Regions from separate parts of the Homo sapiens genome. Here regions 1 and 3 are each linked to region 2. The links are contacts of gene promoters, found by promoter capture Hi-C in blood cells and fetal thymus (Javierre and others, 2016). All regions are on one chromosome and are shown on one strand. The core of a region is centred on a gene start or on the middle of the fragment in contact, and the rest is flanking DNA. Distances in the headings are between cores, read along the strand shown. Region 1 has its middle 190 kb from the start of CYP26A1. Region 2 holds the start of CYP26A1 (cytochrome P450 family 26 subfamily A member 1). Region 3 has its middle 160 kb from the start of CYP26A1.

Region 1 (4,891 bases), core at 2,024-4,523, 190 kb after region 2:
AAATAAATAAAATAAAATAAAGTTTTCCTTTGAAAAACCCATAATGCTAGTAAATAGGTTCTGATAAGAAAAGCAATGTCCTGAAGTAGGAAGAGATCCCTTGTTTTGCAGACGGAGAGATGAGTCTCAGGGGCCAACTGACTTGCTCAAGAACACGTGGCTAGTTGAGGACCAGAGCTGTGGCTCCTCAGTCTTGCTGCATCATGGCCTTTATTTTTCCTTCCATTTTTCTCCACTTATCCCTTTATAATTACTCTACTTAAGCAATATAGATTATTCATTCAAAGCTGGAACATCATTTTCTCATTTCAGTGAGTTTAAATAGCGATGACGGAGCCTGTTCTTAGTGTTTAACAATCAAAACCAATTATGACTCTTTCTTTCCTTCATGTAATAAAACACACTGTCCTTTTCAGAATGTAGTGTTTTTATTCTATGACATCAACAGGCTAATGAGAACAATAATATGGCAACAAAACCTCCAGAGAAGATGTGTACTAAATATAATCAAGTAAGCCCAGTTATTCAGGATTGTGGAAATAGTGTCATGGATACAAAATAAAGAATAAAAGTAGCTCAAAGGATGCTGAACTCATGAGCATGAGTCAGGGCACACTCATGTGTGTTCATCCCAGTGATAAGACCAGCTACAACAAGCTCAATTTCCTTCTGCCCTTTGGAGGGCATTGACAAGCCTCTGGATACTTTCTTGGTATTGAATCCAAATTCCTCAAACTGCCCACGCTATGCTTGGCAAACCCAGAAAATGTTCCCACTTTGTCCCTATAGCAGAGGAAAACTGAGTCAAGAGCCACCCTAAGCACTTGTTCAATTAATTACCCATCCATTCATCCATCCATTTATCCATCTCTCCTTTCATCTATCCCTCCCTTCTTCCGTCCATCTATCAAACATTTGTTGAGCTCCCACCATGTGGGAGTTCAGTTAGTGAATATGGAAATGGCTCACTAATTGGAAATAACAACGCAGTCTTGACTTTTGGCTTTTTACTATCCCTGGGTGTTTGTTCCTTGTTTATAGAGAGGGATAGCCAATCCTGAGGTTTTGGTCCAGCTATGGAATTTATATGGATGTGGTTGCTCTTCTCTCTGTCATTCTGTGTATAGCTAGAGAAATGAAGCAAGAAAAAAATGAATATTAAAGGCAATCCTATTTTTCTTGGACTCTAATTTGAAAAGCACATTTTTTTTTTGAAATCCAAGGAAGAGTATTTGCCAATGAGCCCTTCAATGAGGCAAAAAGAATTCCAGTGGATCCCAGGAAGACAGTCTGTGTTTAGGAAGGAAATATCCTGGGAGGTCCCTTTCTCTTGCATAGAGGATCCTGGCCTAGTCCAGCACTAGAGGCACTTGACACCAATGCCACTAGGAAATTGCATCCTCAGTTGTCTAAGGGGCTCTGGTCATGACCCTGCCCTTTTTCTTCCTTGGCAAAATTGCCCATATTTCAGTTTCAGGGGACTGAAGAATCTACAGTATTCCCCTAAGATCCCAGGATAGGTTCATAAAATGTGACTATCTGAAATTGAAGGAAGGAGAGTGACAAAAGTAGATGAGACAATCTATTCCTCCCTCACCCATCAAGACTGTAAGCTCAATAAGGACAGGAACTCTGTTAATCATGTTCATTGTTTTATCCCTAGGGCCTGGCAATATGATATTCAATGCTTAGCAAATATTCATTTAATTAATAATAGTTAATTATTAATTTTATAATTATAATTTTATAAATATAAATTCATGCAAATTATAAAACTGTTGCAGTCTTCTCAGGAAATATTTGTAGCACCCAAACTGCTAAGTAATAGAAAGTACATCAGACTTAGAGTAAGAAAGCTTGAGTCTGATTTCTTTTTCTTTTTCTTTCTTCCTTTTTTTTTTTGAGACAGAATCTCACTCTGTCACCCAGGCTGGAGTGCAGTGGCTCAATCTTGGCTCACTGCAACTTCCACCTCCCAGGTTCAAGAGCGATTCTCCTCTCTCAGCCTCCCGAGTAGCTGGGATTACAAGTGCATGCCACCATGCTCAACTAATTTTTGTATTTTTAGTAGAGATGGGGTTTCACTATGTTGGCCAGGATGGTCTTGAACTCCTGGCCACAAGTGATCTGCCAACCTAGGCCTCCCAAAGTGCTGGGATTACAGGCATGAGCCACCGCACCCAGCCCCTGAGTCTGATCTCCATTTACTAGCTGTGGGTACCAATTTTCATGTCTTTAAAATGGGATCAATAGCATCTACCTCACAGAGTTATTGGGAGGATTAAATAGAATCACATATTTAAGAGGCCATAGCACAATGCCTGACACAGTGATATGTTCTTAAGAAATGCTAGGGGACTGCGCAAATCTTAGCAAGAGGCCTACAGTGAGCCTAAAATGGAAGCATCGCTGGGTGCAGTGGCACATGCCTGTAGTCCCAGCTACTTGGGAGGCTGAGATGGGAGGATCTCTTTAGCCCAGGAGTTTGAGTCCAGACTGGGCAATATAGCAAGATGATGCCTCTAAAAAAAAAAAAAAAAGTTATAAAAAGGGAACACCAATGAAAATGTAACCACTGAAAGAGAAGCTAAATTCATGAAAATTATGAGGACAATAACTGAATCCAAATTCCCCAAACTGTCCAAGCTATGCTTGGCAAACCCAGAAAATGTTCCTACTGTGTCCTTATAGCAGAGGAAAACTGAGTCAAGAGCCACCCTAAGCACTCATTCAATTAATTACCATCCATTCATCCATCCATTTATCCATCTCTCCCTTCATCTATCCCTCCCTTCTTCCATCCCTCTATCAAACATTTATTGAGCTTCCACCATGTAGGAGTTCAGTTAGTGAATATGGAAATGGCTCACTGATTGGAAATCAGTGAGGACAGTTCCTGTCCTTATTGAGCTCACAGTCTTGACGGGGTGAGGGAGGGATAGATTATCTCATCTACATTTTTTTTTTTTTGAGACGGAGTTTCATTCTGTTGCCCAGGCTGGAGTGCAGTGGCCTGATCTTGCCTCACTCACTGCAAGCTCCGCCTCCCCGCCATTCTCCTGCCTCAGCCTCCCGAGTAGCTGGGACTACAGGCACCTGCCACCATGCCCAGCTAATTTTTTATATTTTTAGTAGAGACAGGGTTTCACCGTGTTAACCAGGATGGTCTCGATCTCCTGACCTCATGATCTGCCTGCCTCAGCCTCCCAAAGTGCTGGGATTACAGGCATGAGCCACCGCGCCCAGCCTATCTCATCTACGTTTGTCACTCTCCTTCCTTCAATTTCAGATAGTCACACTTTGTGAACCTATCCTGGGATCTTAGGGGAAGACTAGATTCTTCAGTCCCCTGAAACTGAAAATCATTTGTCGTCCTATTATAGTGACAATTTTTTTTTTTGATATGGAGTCTCACTCTGTCGCCCAGGCTGGAGTGCAGCGGCACTATCTTGGCTCACTGCAACCTCCACCTGCCTTAGCCTCCCGAGTTCAAGCGATTCTCCTGCCTTAGCCTCCTGAGTAGCTGGGACTACAGGTGCATGCCACCACGCCCAGCTAATTTTTTGTATTTTTAGTAGAGATGGCATTTAATCATGTTAGCCAGGATGGTCTTCATCTCCTGACCTCGTGATCCACCTGCCTCAGCCTCCCAAAGTCCTGGGATTATAGCCGTGAGCCACCGTGCCTGGCCTATAACGGCAAAAATGTTTTATCACTGATATGAAAAATATTTTTTAAAGGAAAATCAGTGGAAAAGTTTTGCTGGTGTTTCTTTGACAATTGTCACTGCTGAGCTTATTTTCATGTGAACAAGACAGGCTTTCAGCTTTCCTGAGTTGTCAAGTGATAGCTTAATAAAATTTGCTTTCCAAGTACTTATTCAGAAAAATTATCCAAAATTTGGAAATAAAGCAAAGACATTGTTGTGTGTCCTTGTTTCAATGACATACTAGAGAACTGTCCAAGAAGCTCACTTAGAGATCATCTTGTGCTCTTGGAATTATTATTTTGCTTCACTTACTCTTTACTATTTATATGAACTGAATGTTTGTGTCCCTCCTCAAATTTGTATATTGAAGCCTTAACCCCCAGTGTGGCTGTATTTAGAGATGGGGTGTCTAAGAAAGCAATTAAGATTAGATGAGGTCATAAGAGTGAGACTCTGATGTGATAGGATTAGTGTCCTTATAAGAGACACCAGCTTGAACACACTGAAGAAAGGCCAGGTGAGGACACTGTGAGAAGGTGGCCCTCTGCAAGCCACAAAGAGGGCTCTCACCAGAAGCCAAACCAGCCAGAACCTGGATCTTGGATGTCAAGCCTCTACAACTGTGAACAAGTTAATTTATATATTTTAAACCACCTAGTCTTGGTACTTTGTTGCGGCAGCCTGAGCTAAGACATTATTGCTTAACGTTCAGACTCTGTAACGTTGGGCATTCACTTGTAGAAGATCGACAAGTTGCTTGTGGATGTTTCTAGTAGAGATGTAAATTATTTCTATTTGTAGAAATGAGAGTGCAAAGATCAGTTTTACTGACCTGTAGGACAGTAACCATTTTATATCTAATGTCATCTGAGTTTCAGTTTTCCTGCTTTGTAAAACACCAATAACAGTTCCTCCTTCATAGGGTTGTTGTACCACTAAATGTAACACATGTAGCACTTGTAGGGCACTGCCGGACACGTAGTAAGCTTTCAATTAAATTACACTCACTACAATTATTTAGATCGGAGGTCTACAGATGTGTTTTGTTGGGTTTGCACAGCATTTAAAAATATGAGTAGCCAATAGGTAAAAGTCAGGACATTTCACGTATTTCAGATGTTAACGTCTCTTTAAAAATCAAAATATTAGTCAGTACAAGGCTTAAATTATTATATGGCAACC
Region 2 (4,940 bases), core at 13-2,512:
CCTCCCATTAGGGGTCGGTAGAGCCCTGAGTTTAGGGCCGAGCACCCCCTCACCTGGATGAGGACAGTGGCTTTACTCTGGGTGGGACTTGGGAGAGAGGAGGAGGACTCCAGTGCCCGGTGTACCGGACACCCAGGTAACGCAGTCTACCGTGCCTGGAGCTGGGAAGAGTAGTTGCAACCGGAGCCCCCTTTTGGGAACTCACTACCCTGAGGCTTAGACAGGTCGGGAATGATCGCCTCCCGGTTAAGGAGGAGGAAACAGGCACAGTGATGTGTGGTGACTTGCCCAAGGTCACACGCAGTACAGATGGAGCCGGGCCTCGGAGCCAGGACTCCTGGGCTCCCCTTCCTCTTATACCGTCTCTTTATCCTGCCAGGGCTAAGGACCCCCTTCCCTGCTGTCCAGCTGGGGCGCCAAGCAGCAGGGCCCTCCGAATAGGCGAGCTGTGCTTGGATCTCAGAGACGGGCACCGACTGCCGAGCCCCAGACGAAGTGCCCCAGGGTCGGGGATCAGGCTTGTGCAGGGTAGCACCTGGGGACCTGAGGGACCTGGAGGCCTTCTTGTATCCTGAAGTAGGACCTTCTAAGACTTCATGAGTCCTGGCCCCCTTGCAGGGGTTGGGGAGCTGGGGATCCCAGATCTGCCTATTGCGCCCGATGCCCCGAGGCTCTCTCTTGGACTCTGGCCCTGAGTTCTTCTGCGCGATCCTTCGGAGACGTCTGGAGGCCTGCTTTATGCATCTCTCTTGGACCTCAGTTTCCCCACACGTGGGAGGAGGCAGCTGGACGATTCCTGAAAGGACTTTCCCTTGCTTCCTCATCACGTGGAAGAGAGCCCACCCGGCACCTGGAAATGGAAAGCCAGTGAAGGCTGCTTTGGGCCGGGGCAGCGGGTGGGACCGGGCGGGAGGGATTCCAAAGAGACCGCCGGGAAGGCTAGAGCTTGGAATTCCGGCTCCTCGGAGTCCTGGCCCTCCCCCACCGCCGCCTCGGAGCTCAGCACACCTTGGATGGGGGAGGCGGGCAGCTCCTAGCCCCGCACCCCAGGAGGCGCGCTCGGAGGGAAGCCGCCACCGCGCCGCCTCTGCCTCGGCGCGGAACAAACGGTTAAAGATTTTGGGCAGCGCCTCGCGGGGGGAGGAGCCAGGGGCCCAATCCGCAATTAAAGATGAACTTTGGGTGAACTAATTGTCTGACCAAGGTAACGTGGGCAGCAACCTGGGCCGCCTATAAAGCGGCAGCGCCGTGGGGTTTGAAGCGCTGGCGGCGGCGGCAGGTGGCGCGGGAGGTCGCGGCGCGCCATGGGGCTCCCGGCGCTGCTGGCCAGTGCGCTCTGCACCTTCGTGCTGCCGCTGCTGCTCTTCCTGGCTGCGATCAAGCTCTGGGACCTGTACTGCGTGAGCGGCCGCGACCGCAGTTGTGCCCTCCCATTGCCCCCCGGGACTATGGGCTTCCCCTTCTTTGGGGAAACCTTGCAGATGGTACTGCAGGTAAGGGAGGGTGGGGCGGGACAGGCTGCTTCCCCGGAGCCCGGCGCGGCTCTGGGCTTCTGCTGAAGTCGGGGTAGGCGCCCCCGGGAGGCATGCTATTGCGGCTAGGAGCAGGGCTGGCGGGAGCGCGGCGCTCCCCGGCGCCCCCTCATGCCCACTTCTCTCCTCCGCCTTCCTCCCACAGCGGAGGAAGTTCCTGCAGATGAAGCGCAGGAAATACGGCTTCATCTACAAGACGCATCTGTTCGGGCGGCCCACCGTACGGGTGATGGGCGCGGACAATGTGCGGCGCATCTTGCTCGGAGAGCACCGGCTGGTGTCGGTCCACTGGCCAGCGTCGGTGCGCACCATTCTGGGATCTGGCTGCCTCTCTAACCTGCACGACTCCTCGCACAAGCAGCGCAAGAAGGTGGGGGCAGGAGGCGACGGCTGGACAGGGAGGGGGACCCCATTTATGAGCGGAATTCCGGCTGATGGATGCTAGGCGCGGGCTAGCAGCTTGAGGTGGGCTAGGACCCTCTGCCAGCTCCAGGTTAGCTTTCCCAGCTCGGAGAGTGCCATGTGTCTGGCAGGACTGGGGGTGTCTGGAAGGGGACGGCGGTAGACGAGAGGGGCGGATGGAGGCTTTTAACGCTGTCCCCTCCTCGGGACTCAGGTGATTATGCGGGCCTTCAGCCGCGAGGCACTCGAATGCTACGTGCCGGTGATCACCGAGGAAGTGGGCAGCAGCCTGGAGCAGTGGCTGAGCTGCGGCGAGCGCGGCCTCCTGGTCTACCCCGAGGTGAAGCGCCTCATGTTCCGAATCGCCATGCGCATCCTACTGGGCTGCGAACCCCAACTGGCGGGCGACGGGGACTCCGAGCAGCAGCTTGTGGAGGCCTTCGAGGAAATGACCCGCAATCTCTTCTCGCTGCCCATCGACGTGCCCTTCAGCGGGCTGTACCGGGTAAGGGCGGCAAACGGGCTGCGGACTAGGGGCGCGGGACCTGGGCGTCTGCTCACCGCCGCGCGCTCTCTGCGCTCAGGGCATGAAGGCGCGGAACCTCATTCACGCGCGCATCGAGCAGAACATTCGCGCCAAGATCTGCGGGCTGCGGGCATCCGAGGCGGGCCAGGGCTGCAAAGACGCGCTGCAGCTGTTGATCGAGCACTCGTGGGAGAGGGGAGAGCGGCTGGACATGCAGGTGAGTAGCAGCTTCAGACCAGGCACTGCGGAGTTTGGTCCCCTGGCTTTCCAAGCGCTGTTCCTGGGGCCCCCAAAGCGCGCGCCTGGGGCCCAGCTTTCTGGAGTGGGCGGCCGGCTCAGACTACAGCTATGGAATCCCGAAGGAAGGCTGAGACACCCGGTCAGGAGAGCTGCGGAAGGGGCTGCGGCGGAACTGGGAGCATCCCCTAGCCTTTCCAGGTTTCAAAGGGAAAGTTGGAATTTGCAAAAATGTTAATAAAGAACCTTGCGATTTTAATAAAACTAAGACTTTAACTCAGGAGTTTCCGGTAGAGCGGGGTCGTACTCGCCTTACTGCTCCAGCTGAACTAAAGGGACGTTGCATTTTGTTTAAAGATATTGCTTTCCTTGACTTTCTGTCAGCAAAACATTTAGCCCTTCTAGTCTTCCCTCCAGAACTCTCAGTTCGATTCTGAGTAATCCTTCTGTCAAACCGCAGGCAGACTTGTGAGAATGTGGGTCTCACTCTATTCTTAGGCACTAAAGCAATCTTCAACCGAACTCCTCTTTGGAGGACACGAAACCACGGCCAGTGCAGCCACATCTCTGATCACTTACCTGGGGCTCTACCCACATGTTCTCCAGAAAGTGCGAGAAGAGCTGAAGAGTAAGGTAGGGAGACTGGGTCTGGGGGTGTCCTTATTAGCTTAGGAAATTCAGCTGCTCCCTAGCCAACTTCCGAATAAGTCAGTGTGCTGCCTTCATGGAGTATTTTGAAAGTGCAGGGCCCAGGGCTGCGTGGGCCAGTGGGCAGAATTAGCTTTGTGAATAAACAGGATGGAGTCTTGAGCTGTGAGCCCACTTGGGCAGGGTTTGACCTTGTATTCCTACCCCTCCTCCACCTTTTGCTGAACCGTGGAGATTCTCAGATAGGTTCCACTTTCTTGAATTGGTGTGTCCAAGGGCATACATAGTGTGAATAGCTGATTAGTGTGGGTGGTGGTGGTGAGTGTGGGGTGGGGGGGCGTGGGGAGAAACTTGGTCCTTCTAACTGGTGAGCAGCATTCTCCTGGGATTGTAAATAGATAGTGGATTTGGGCAGGCAAATGGCCATTAGCTGCTGTTTCCCCCTCCCAGTCTCTCCCATCATGGGGCCCTTTGGGTTTAGTCTCCACTTAAGCCCTGTTTACGTCTGCTGGGCTGATTTTATTGGAGCACAAAATAACTGTTCACCTCTGTATGACTGTTTTGATAGGGTTTACTTTGCAAGAGCAATCAAGACAACAAGTTGGACATGGAAATTTTGGAACAACTTAAATACATCGGGTGTGTTATTAAGGAGACCCTTCGACTGAATCCCCCAGTTCCAGGAGGGTTTCGGGTTGCTCTGAAGACTTTTGAATTAAATGTAAGTTAAAATTCTCTTCTTTCTCCCTTTTGTTGTGGTTTAAAAACTCCTCTTTCTTCCCTATGCTGTGGCTGCAATTCTTATGCTTTTGATAATTGTTCTGCCCTATATGGAGATATGTTTCAGCAACCTGGATCCACCTCTCTCTTTCTACCTCTCCCTTGCTTTTAGCTCATAATTTCCCCCAAAGATATCAGTGACTGCTTTTTGTTGTTGAAAGTTAAATTCCAGTTTGTCAGCCCTTGGGGTTTCATAATCTTTTGCAGGGATACCAGATTCCCAAGGGCTGGAATGTTATCTACAGTATCTGTGATACTCATGATGTGGCAGAGATCTTCACCAACAAGGAAGAATTTAATCCTGACCGATTCATGCTGCCTCACCCAGAGGATGCATCCAGGTTCAGCTTCATTCCATTTGGAGGAGGCCTTAGGAGCTGTGTAGGCAAAGAATTTGCAAAAATTCTTCTCAAAATATTTACAGTGGAGCTGGCCAGGCATTGTGACTGGCAGCTTCTAAATGGACCTCCTACAATGAAAACCAGTCCCACCGTGTATCCTGTGGACAATCTCCCTGCAAGATTCACCCATTTCCATGGGGAAATCTGATGAGCTTGAATGTTCAAACCTGAGACTTATTGGAAGTGTACATATGAGTTTTTAAGGAGTGTTGTGTTGACTTTATATTTAATTTCTAAATGTATATTATAATATTTATGTGTTTTGACTATACTACCACAATCTTTAAATATTAAAATAATGAATTTGTATCATTTCCAAATAAAGTAAAATTTGAAGGTACTTTTCTGGTATTTTAAGATTCCTGTTGGGTAAAACTCACCAGTTTAGTATTTTCTTAGTGTATTTAACCAGAT
Region 3 (4,741 bases), core at 1,606-4,105, 160 kb after region 2:
CCATGAATCAGTATATAATCGCACATCTAGCCATTTCTCCTTTCATGCAAAGTGTGCAGCCAGGTGCACTGCTAGAAGTTCTGCCCACTGGGAAGATTTCCCTTCACTGGTCTCCTTCAGGGATGTCCTAGAAAGGGGCTATAGTGCTGCAGCTGTCTACGTTCGAGTGGTGCCTGTATATTGTGCAGAACCACCTGTGACCCAGGCCCTAGTCTTCTCTTCCTCTGTCAAATGATCACAGGGAACTCCCCATGAGGCCATTGGTGCAGGCTGGGGAGGAGAAGGCAGGGCGGCAGGTGTGGAGACCATGGGCATTTGAGCCACTTCCTCATGTAACTTACTTGTGCCTTCAGGACCTGCTCAAGCCTCATCACGTATATACCACTTCCATTTGATGGTGGAAGGCTGTGCATGACCCACTTGATGGCTAAATGGGTCAGAAAGCACCCAGTTCATGACAGGCAGTTCAGGTTACATGGTGACTTGATGACCCATAGTCAAACGTTGTTTCCATCAAAGTCCAGTAACAAGCCAAGATCTGTCTCTCAAAAGGAGAGTAGTTATCTACAGAAGATGGCAAGGCCCTGCTCCAAAATCCTAGAGGCCTGCACTGTGATTCACCTATGGGGGCCTGCCAAAGGCACCAAACAGCATCCCTATCTGCCACTGACACCTCAAGCACCATTGGATCTGCTGGGTCATATAGCCCAAGTGGCAGAGCAGCTTGCACAGCAGCCTGGACTTGTTACAGAGCCTTCTCCTGTTCTGGACCCCACTCAAACTGGCAGCCTTTTGGGTCACTCAATAAATGGGTCAGAGTAACACACCCAGATGAGGAATGTGTTGCCTCCAAAATCCAAATAGGCCCACTAGGTGTTCTGCCTCTTTCTTGGTTGTAGGAGGGGCCAAACACAGCAACTTATCCTTCACTTTAGAAGGGATATTTTGACAGACCCCACACCACTGGACCCCTAGAAATTTCACTGAGGTAGAAGTTCCCTGAATTTTAGTCATATTTATTTCCCATCCTCTGGCATGGAAATGTCTCACCAATAAGTCCAGTGTGTTTGCTACTTCTTGATCACTGGATCCAATCAGCATAATGTCATCAATGTAATGGACCAGTGTGATATCTTGTAGAAGTGAAAAGCGATCAAGGTCTCTCCAAATAAGATTATGACACAAAGCCAGAGTTGATATACCCCTGAGGTAGGAAAGTAAAGGTATATTGCTGGCCTTGCCAGCTGAAGGCAAATTGCTTCTGGTGGGCCTTATGGACGGGAATGGAGAAAAAGGCATTTGCCAAGTCAATGGCTGCATACCAGGTACCAGGAGATGTGTTAATTTGCTCAAGAAATGAAACCACATCTGGTACAGGAGCTGCAATTGGAGTCACCACTTGATTAAGCTTGTGATAATCCACTGTCATTCTCTAAGATCCATCTGGTTCACAGCTCGGTCAGTTTGAGGCAGGCCAAATGGGAGAGTTGAATGGGGATGTGGTAGGAATCACCACCCCTGCATCTTTCACGTCCCTGATGGTGGCACTAATCTCCACAATCCCCCCAGGGATGTGATATTGTTTTTGATTTACTATTTCTTTAGGTAGAGACAGCTCTAATGGCTTCCACTTGGCCTCTCCCACCATAATAGCCATCACCCTACCAGTTAGGGAAGCCAGTGTAGGGATTCTGCCAGCTGCTAAGTGTGTCTATGCCAATTATGCATTCTGGCATTGGGGAAATTACTACAGGATGACTGTGGGGACCCACTGTAAGTCAGACCTGAGCTAAAACTCCATTAATTACCTGACCTCCATAAGTCCCTACTTTAATTGGAGGATCACAGTGATGTTTTGGGTCCCCTGGAGTCAACATCAGCTCAGAGGCAGTGTTCCATAATCTCTGAAATGTCTGATCATTTCCCTTTTCCCAATGCACAGTTACCCCAGTAAAAGGCCAGAGGTGTCTTTGGGGAAAGATGGGAGAAAGGTTCACTGCACAAATTGTCGGTAATGTAGTGAGGCCCTTCCTCAAGGGGATCCAGCCTCCCCTTCATTCAAGGAGTTCTGGGTCTATAAACTGGCTCAAGTCTGGAAATTGATTGAGGGACCATGATTCTCCGTTTTTGTAATTCAAATTAGTCTTTTGTCCATTCAAGCTAGAAGTTTTCTGCTTGTATAAATTAAGTATGAATGCAGTAGGCTTCCTATCAACTTCATTTCTAGGAACACTATGATTAATTAGCCAATGCCAGAGCTCTACATGAGTCAGACTATTCTGATTGGTGCTTTGTCTCTGCTGTTCATTATGGTAGCTACACCCACCTTGCCTTTGACGGTTGACTGCTGCCACTTGGCCCCTGCCACGTCGGGATCAAATTATTCCCATCGTATTTAAATTTTGTAGTTGAGTGACTATGGTTCCTACTGTTAGATCTGACATACAGAGAAGAGAAATTATAGGGCTCTTCAAACATGTAGGTACTTGCCTCACAAATCTATTTCACAAGGCATTGGTCAAGGGTATATCTTCTGGACCCTCCTACCTGGGATGAGTAGGTCTAAAGTGACTAATCCACTCCACCATCCCACTCTCCCTAAGCCTTTAGATCCCTTCCTCTACATTAAACCAAGAAAGATCAGGCATTTCCAGCTTGCTCACAGTGGGCCATCTTTTAATCCATATTTCAGCTAACCAAGCAAATAAACGATTAGAACCTTTTTTAATTCCCCAAGCTGCAACATTAAATGCAGAGTCCCTACTTAGTGGGTCCAAATCAATAAATTCAGCCTGATCCAACTCTATGTTCCTTCCACCATTATCCCATACCCTTAATATCCATTCCCGTGACTGTTCTCCAGATTTCTGTTTATATAAATTAGAGAACTCAAGCAGTTCTTTTTAAGAGTAGTGAACCTCCTCATGGATCATGCTCTCAACCTCACCTCTAGGTGCCTGCCAGGACTTTAGTCTAGTTATAGGTCTGGAAGCAAACAGAGGTGTTGAGGGTGGCTCCTGAGGAGAATCAACATTATTTTGCCTGGCAACTGCCTCCATGGAGGCCATCACTGTTGCCTCAGACAGTGCAGAGTTTTGTCTTCTCAGACAAAGGTGGAAAGGCTGATGGCAGCATGGGTCAGGGAGGGGATGTTGCCACTACTGGGGATGGTGAAGCTCTTCCTTCTGGCAAGAAAGTTTCATCAGAGCTTACAAACTTAGTGTTCCCAGCTTCATCAGGGTCCTCCCACACATCCCCATTCCAGGTTACAGGGTCTCATTCTTTTCTAATCAATGCCCTCACTTTAACAGTAGACACCGGTGAGGTGCATGCACCTTTCATCGCAGGTCAGCCACTCACATGATAAGAGCTTGTGTCTGTTTCTCCACAATTTCAGCTCTTTCTCTACAGGAGATAAGACTCTCACTCAGGGCAATCTTAGAAGATTTGAGGCTCAGTATCTGCTTCTGAAGCCAGAAGACAGAATCCCTGAGTTCATCATTTTCTCTCATCACTTTGTCCAGTGAACTTAGGAGCAACCAACCAGCTTCATTATGTTCCTTGGTTCTCCACATATGGTCAAAAGTATTATATATAGAGTTAAGGAACTCCTTGCATCTCATGAACAGTGAATCAGGAGTGTCAAATGCATTTATTTTACATAACTCTCTAAACAGTTCATGCCAAGGACTATCAGTGTTCTCCATACTATTAGAAGTAGAGTCCTTAGCATTTTTGGGTCTAATCATATTAAGCAGCCAACTCCAGAAACCCCAAAACCAACAAAAGAACTCCATCCTTAATATTCTGTTCCTGGCTGAGTGCAGTGGCTCACACCTGTAATCCTAGCACTTTGGGAGGCCAAGGCAGGTGGATCACCTGAGGTCAGGAGTTCGAGACCAGCCTGGTCAACATGATGAAACCTCATCTCTACTAAAAATACAAAAATTAGCCAGGCATGGCAGCAGGCACCTATAATCCCAGCTACTCGGGAAGCTGAAGTAGGAGAATCGCTTGAATCCAGGGGGCAGAGGTTGCAGTGAGCCGAGATTGCACCACTTCACTCCAGCCTGGGTGAAAGAGCAAAACTCTGTCTCCAAAAAAAAAAAAAGAAAAAAATTATGAATTCTGTTCCTCTAGAACCACTCCTGGTACCAAAATCTGTATTAGGGTTCCCTAAAGGAACAGAACTAATATATATATGTGTGTATATGTATACACACATGTATGTATGTGTATATATATATATGAGTTTATTAAATATTAACTTACATGATCACAATGTCCCACAATAGGCGTCTGCAAGCTTGAGGAGCAAGGAGAACCAGTCTGAGTCTCAGAACTGAAGAACTCTGGAGTCCGATGTTTGAAGGCAGGAAACATCCAGCATGGGAGAAAGATGTAGGCTGGGAGTCTAAGCCAGTCTTGCCTTTTCACGATTTTCTGCCTGCTTTATATTCACTGGCAGCTGATTAGATTGTGCCCACCAGATTAAGGGTGGGTCTCTTTTCCCCAGCCCACTGACTCAAATGTTAATGTCCTTTGGCAATACCCTCACAGACACACCCAAGATTAATACCTTGCACCCTTCAATCCAATCAAGTTGACACTCAATATTAACCATCACAGAGATGGTTCAACACAATCCATTTGAGCCCAGGTTCACAGCTTGGTCAGTGTCAATAGACTCTGACAGGCACACTTCCTGGGAACAGATAAAGGATCTGAGCTTCCAAGAGTT

What was found. The method cuts DNA at HindIII sites, captures the fragments that hold promoters and counts their contacts. A CHiCAGO score of 5 or more calls a contact.
Region 1: a fragment that was not itself captured here is called in contact with the fragment with the promoter of CYP26A1 in region 2 in 3 of 17 cell types (M1 macrophages, M2 macrophages and M0 macrophages); the score reaches 8.2 in M1 macrophages.
Region 3: a fragment that was not itself captured here is called in contact with the fragment with the promoter of CYP26A1 in region 2 in 1 of 17 cell types (M2 macrophages); the score reaches 7.0 in M2 macrophages.

Annotation. Positions count from the first base shown.
Region 1 is chr10:93,261,808-93,266,698 of GRCh38, forward strand. No RefSeq gene overlaps it. Among named protein-coding and RNA genes, the nearest start is that of CYP26A1, 190 kb to the left of the region's middle. The HindIII fragment of the contact is 2,839 bases long and covers 1,855-4,693 here.
Region 2 is chr10:93,072,631-93,077,570 of GRCh38, forward strand. CYP26A1 (cytochrome P450 family 26 subfamily A member 1) reads left to right here and starts at 1,263. Exons shown (of 7, transcript NM_000783.4): 1 at 1,263-1,493; 2 at 1,678-1,902; 3 at 2,149-2,439; 4 at 2,519-2,677; 5 at 3,196-3,330; 6 at 3,914-4,066; 7 at 4,333-4,940. The coding sequence starts at 1,305. The coding sequence ends at 4,674. The HindIII fragment of the contact is 6,992 bases long and covers 1-4,940 here.
Region 3 is chr10:93,231,122-93,235,862 of GRCh38, forward strand. No RefSeq gene overlaps it. Among named protein-coding and RNA genes, the nearest start is that of CYP26A1, 160 kb to the left of the region's middle. The HindIII fragment of the contact is 2,898 bases long and covers 1,407-4,304 here.